2 separate regions of the Homo sapiens genome follow, and region 2 is linked to region 1. Evidence: promoter capture Hi-C in 16 types of primary human blood cells and fetal thymus (Javierre and others, 2016). All regions are on one chromosome and are shown on one strand. Each heading gives the region's core, a stretch centred on a gene start or on the middle of the fragment in contact. The rest is flanking DNA. Distances are from core to core; before and after follow the strand shown. Region 1 holds the start of MCAT (malonyl-CoA-acyl carrier protein transacylase). Region 2 holds the start of LOC101927393 (a long non-coding RNA gene).

Region 1 (2,952 bases), core at 1-2,500:
TTTTTTTTTGAAACGGAGTCTTGCTCTGTCACCCAGGCTGGAGTGCAGTGGTGGGATCTCGGCTCACTGCAACCTCTGCTGCCCGGGCTTAGGGGATTCTCCTGCCTCAGCCTCCCGAGTAGCTGGAACTATAAGCGCCCACCACCACGCCCAGCTAATTTTTGTATTTTTAGTAGAGACGGGGTTTCTCCATGTTGGCCAGGCTGGTCTTGAACTCCTGACCTCAAGTGATCCATCTGCCTCAGCCTCCCAAAGTACTGGGATTACAGGCATGAGCCACTGCGCCTGGCCGAGCCTGTGTCTCTTGAGTTGCTTTTAGGTTAACATTAGATAACCCCAATTTCCAACCTCCATTCTGTCACTAACCACCTGTCACTCAATCTCTGAGCAGCTATCCATCACAGCGTTGCTGTGAGGAATTAAATAAGCTAATATCTGAAACACATTCAAGGCTTTGTTCAATAGCATAAAGATCTATTGGATGCTTATTATGTGCCAAGCACTGTGTGGTTTGTAAGAAAACATTATAAAAGAGAGCTGTTGTATAGTTGGGAACTGGCAACGGATGGTCGGCCATGCCAACTCCTGTGGTTGGGAGGATCATATGCAAGAAATGTGGTTGCTGGCCGGGCGCGGTGGCTCACGCCTGTAATCCCAGCACTTTGGGAGGCCGAGGCGGGTGGATCACCTGAGGTCAGGAGTTCGACACCAGCGTGGCCAACATGGTGAACCCGTCCCTACTAAAAATACAAAAATTAGTCAGGCATGGTGGCGGGCGCCTGTTAATCCCAGCTACTCGGGAAGCTGAAGCAGGAGAATCGCTTGAACCTGGGAGGCGGCGGTTGCAGTGAGCAAAGAACACGCCACTGCACTCCAGCCTGGGCGACAGAGCAAGACTCCGTCTCAAAAAACAACAACAAACAACAACAACGACAACAACAAAAACCATCAATGTGGAAGAGTTTCAAGTGCTCTTCATGTGCCAGGTAGAAAGCGTAAATACTACATTGCGTTGCGTTATTTATTCCATAAATATCTGTTGAGGACCCACTGTGGTGTGGCATCGTGTTCCGTTCAACGGCTATGGCTGTTTAAGTAAACGCATGAGTCCCTCCAGGACCCCAGAACGCAGCCCGAAGGGCCTCAGAGCCGGGGCGGAACCAGCGTCTGCGGAACCTTTCTTCCCGCTCCCGGTGCCCCGGAAGCCCCGGCAGGAAATGCGTCAGGGACCACGCTGCGCCGCGCCGCCGCAGTCGGGCCTCGGTCGCCACGGTAACGCGCGCGGGCAGGTGTCCGACCATGAGCGTCCGGGTCGCACGGGTAGCGTGGGTCAGGGGCTTGGGCGCCAGCTACCGCCGCGGCGCCTCGAGCTTCCCGGTGCCTCCGCCGGGCGCCCAGGGTGTAGCGGAGCTGCTGCGAGATGCGACCGGGGCGGAGGAGGAGGCGCCCTGGGCGGCGACGGAGCGGCGAATGCCGGGCCAGTGCTCCGTGCTGCTCTTCCCGGGCCAGGGCAGCCAGGTGGTGGGCATGGGCCGCGGTCTGCTCAACTACCCGCGCGTCCGCGAACTCTACGCCGCCGCCCGCCGCGTGCTGGGCTACGACCTGCTGGAACTGAGCCTGCACGGGCCGCAGGAGACCCTGGACCGCACCGTGCACTGTCAGCCCGCGATCTTCGTGGCATCGCTGGCCGCTGTCGAGAAACTACATCACCTGCAGCCCTCGGTGAGGCCCGAGGCCCCGTGACAGGAGGGGGAAGGTGAGCTCTGCCTGAGCTCTTGGCCCTGCCAGAGGCTTCCGCCTGCCATTCCGGGGGCTCCCACGTCTTACTCATTCGATCGAGTTTTTTTTTTTGTTTGTTTTTGTTTTTTTTTTTGAGACGGAGTCTCGCTCTGTCGCCCAGGCTAGAGTGCAGTGGCGCGATCTCGGCTCCGCCTCCCGAGTTCACGCCATTCTCCTGCCTCAGCCTCCCAAGTAGCTGGGACTACAGGCGCCCGCCACCATGCCCGGCTAATTTTTTGTATTTTTAGTAGAGACGGGGTTTCATCGTGTTAGTCAGGATGGTCTTGATCTCCTGACCTCGTGATCTGCCCGCCTCGGCCTCCCAAAGTGCTGGGATTACAGGCATGAGCCACCGTGCCCGGCCCGTTTTGTTTTGTTTTTTGAGACAGAGTCTTGCTCTGTCACCCAGGCTGGAGTGCAATGGCGCAGTCTTGGCTCACTGCAACCTCTGCCTCCCAGGTTCAAGCAGTTCTCCTGCCTCAGCCTCCGCAGTAGCTGGGATCACAGGTGCACACCACCACGCCCGGCTAATTTTTTTATTCTTTACTTAAATCCTCCCAGGTTCACCCACCTCGGCCTCCCAAAGTGCTAGGATTACAGGTATGAGCCACTGCACTGGCCTAAATGAAGGAACATTGAGATGAGTTGAGAATGTCACTTCACTTGAAGGTGGTGGATTGATTGCTATTAATATTTAATAAGACGGTAAATGTTAAGCTAGCACTTGAGATCCTTTACCCTATTTCACCTTCACACCACCTTGTGAGGTTAATACTGTTATTTGATGGTTGAGGAATGCAGACTCAGGGATATTAAAAGAATTAGTTAAGTGGTCCTGTTGAATCGTCATCATAATATTCATTCACTGCTTACCCTAGTCTGGGTCTGTGCTAAGCACTGTATAGACATTATATTCACATAATTCTCTCATCCGCCCTTTGGGGTAGGCCCTGTTCTTCCCTCATTTCACAGATGAGATAAAAATGCTCTTGGCCGGGCGAGGTGGCTCACGCCTATAATGCCTATAATCCAGCACTTCAGGAGGCTGAGGTGGGTGCATCACGAGGTCAGGAGTTCAAAACCAGCCTGGCCAACATGGTGAAACCCCGTCTCTACTAAAAATACAAAAATTAGCCAAGTGTGGTGGTGGACACCTGTAATCCCAGCAACTCG
Region 2 (2,833 bases), core at 93-2,592, 270 kb after region 1:
CCTCTTCTACCCAAGGCCTGGCCAGAAGTAGGAGGTCCTTCAGGTTGGAACAACCAAAGATAAATGGAACCACGTTAATACATTAGAGCCACAGGGAGATTCCAGAACAGCGCCAGGGGCTCCTTCTCAGGGTCTCAGGAAGGGTTGACACATGGCACCGTGCACAAGTCATCAGCCAGGTGCTGGGGATAAAATGACAGGTATGACTGTCAGACATGGTCCCTTCCCCTCGCAGCCTGGAAGTTGCAGAGGAGAGGGATTAGCAAAGGCAGAGAGACCCCAGAGACAGCTGCTGGGAGCAAGGCGGCCGGGGCCCTGGGGAGGGGACAGAAGAGGCCCAACGTGAGGGAGGGGCACAACCGAGGGACGATTCCTGCCACCTGGCCAGGGTGGTGAGGAAGGCACAGCCCTATGGAGCTGGATGCCGCAGTCTCAGTGGGAGCCACTGTGGCAGCTGAGAGCAGCTTGTTCCAAATTACTGTGTGAGACTGTCATCTCTAGGTCTGTCAGAGGCCCATGACCAAAGAGGCAACTTAAAATGCATGCATTTAGTAGAGAAATGACCAGGCCCTCGGCCTGCCCGCCACAGAATGCCTGGCCCTCCACCCTCTGTGGGCTCAAAGCTCGTGAATGCGGCTCTGTAGCCCACCGTCGGTGTCATACCTCTCATGGAGACGGCTCCCTCTTTGTCTTGCAGGGGATGAGCTGACCAAGATGGAGGACGAGGATGAGCAGGGCTGGTGCAAGGGACGCTTGGACAACGGGCAAGTTGGCCTATACCCGGCAAATTATGTGGAGGCGATCCAGTGATGAGTCGGGGACAGGCCAGCGGGGGGACGGAGGCGGCGGGCCCAGGAGCCTCAGCCAGCCACGTGGGCATCCACTCCTTTTCCTGCAAGAGATGATGGTTCCATTGCTCTTGGCTTCATGGTGTTCCTGGAAGGCAGATGAGCTGGTCATTTCGCCTGGGACTCGGCACCTTTCCGAGTGCAGCTGGAGGGATCTGAGCGCAGGAAGACGCAGAACAACAGAAATAGCCGCCCCTCCCCGCCCACTGTGCCTGTTGGCCTATCATAGATCTCTATGTTCTTGACTTTGTCTCTCCTTTCCGAGTCAATGGTGGGTTACACTGATCTTGTTCCACTGATTACTCTCTCTGACGAGTCCATCACCTGCAACTTAAATGAACAAGCTTACATCCCATTTTGAGTGAAGATTTTGAGGTTTTTAATTTAAAGGCTGTGTACAGTTATACTTTTTTATACACCTGTTCATTTCTACTTAAATTATGGCACAGATTGATGCGCACCAGTCTTGAGGAAACGATCTCCCTATTCCCTTACCCTGTTACTCAGCCACGCCGTGTGTAGGCTTAGCCTCAGGTGGCAGATGTTTGAGGAAAGGAATTATGCCAGGAAGGTGGGACCGGGTTATGGTCGGGTTTCTATTGGGAATGCTCTTTGTGCTTTTGGGCATCTGAATGGAAGCTTTACATAGAACCTTAGGTAGAACTCCCCCAAATCGCCATATTTAAAAATTATTTTCACTCTATTCTTGCTTAAAACTGTACTCTTTTGCAAATTAACAATTTTATCACTGATTCAGAGTTAAAAAGAAGACTAACTTTTCAAGCAAATGCATCTGTAAAGATGCTTTAGATTAGACTGTCATGTCTCAGTGTCTATCTGTATATATTATTTGATATTCAGAGAATCTAAAGCACTCGTCTACTGTTTTAATGAGATTTAACAGCTTTTAACAGTGAGTTTCGTTTGTAAACTGCTTGAAGTCTGTGGCATTCAGGCACACGTCTGGCTGGCCGGCTGGGTCTCCTCCCGGGCTCAGTGGGCCTGGGGCCTCTCTGACGTGGTGCCTGCTGGAGGGAGGCTCGTCGTCACCAGCTGACTGCTGGTCCGGCTTCTGACCGGCCTTTGTCCTGGCTCCGTAGCAGAACACTGTAAAAGTGCCCGCGTCTTTGCAGTAGTTGCAGATTTCAGTCGTCGTGTTACTTGTGCACAAACAGAAGCTGGGTCTTACCCGCAGCACGAGTGTCTCGGGCTGCCCGGAGTCGCCCGGGAGCAGGTGCTGCAGCCAGAGTTACGCGGGGGCCACGCGGGCCGGCGGGGGTGGGGGGAACGTGGGGGAACCTGTGTTTCACGTGACTCAGCAGTGCCCGCCGCCGTCACCAGCTATGCATTCACTCCGTTTCCAGTGAGCAGATGTCTTGCTTGGAAAGTGGACCTGTGTCTGTGTCTGTCCTGAGAACTTACCAGCAGAAATCCTCATTTCTGTGCTACGGATTTACCAAAAATTGTCAAGTCTTTTTCAGTTTAACAGTTCCTTTACATGTGTAGTATTTGAGGAAAAAAATCAATAAACAGTTGATCTCGTGCATATGGAAGTCCCTTCGCCATCATCTGTCTTCATGCCCACTTCACTTGGCGGGGGTGGCCTCCCTGGGGCTTACTAGCTTTGGAGCTGGGCAAGATCCAGGGCACAGGACCCCTGCCCAAAAGGCCACGGCCCACTGCCCCTGCCAAACTGGAGGTTGGGGATTTGAGGCACCTGAGCCCCTTGGGGTTCCCTTCTCCCCGAGACCTGCTGCTGTTTGACCTGGGCTTCCACATGGTGCGGGCATCGGCTGGCGCCTCTCTATTGCCCCAGCCCAAACAGCAGGACAAGACTGACATCACCCATAACTCTCCTATGAGCACATTTTCCTGAGCACCTACTGTGTGCTCTCCACTTTTTACTTACATTATCTGCGTCTCCAAACATCTCCACAGGGTATGGGCAAGTCTCCCCATTTCCATTCTACCGAGGAGGAAACAGA

The links. The method cuts DNA at HindIII sites, captures the fragments that hold promoters and counts their contacts. A CHiCAGO score of 5 or more calls a contact.
Region 2: a fragment that was not itself captured here is called in contact with the fragment with the promoter of MCAT in region 1 in 2 of 17 cell types (total B cells and naive CD8 T cells); the score reaches 6.5 in total B cells.

The regions. Positions count from the first base shown.
Region 1 is chr22:43,141,696-43,144,647 of GRCh38, reverse strand. MCAT (malonyl-CoA-acyl carrier protein transacylase) reads left to right here and starts at 1,250. Exons shown (of 4, transcript NM_173467.5): 1 at 1,250-1,722. The coding sequence starts at 1,300. RefSeq lists a silencer at 1,226-1,495. The HindIII fragment of the contact is 11,018 bases long and covers 1-2,952 here.
Region 2 is chr22:42,869,334-42,872,166 of GRCh38, reverse strand. It overlaps PACSIN2 (protein kinase C and casein kinase substrate in neurons 2), which reads left to right. Exons shown (of 11, transcript NM_001184970.3): 11 at 698-2,394. The coding sequence ends at 810. LOC101927393 (a long non-coding RNA gene) reads right to left here and starts at 753. Exons shown (of 3, transcript XR_001755575.2): 1 at 664-753; 2 at 82-182. The HindIII fragment of the contact is 295 bases long and covers 1,195-1,489 here.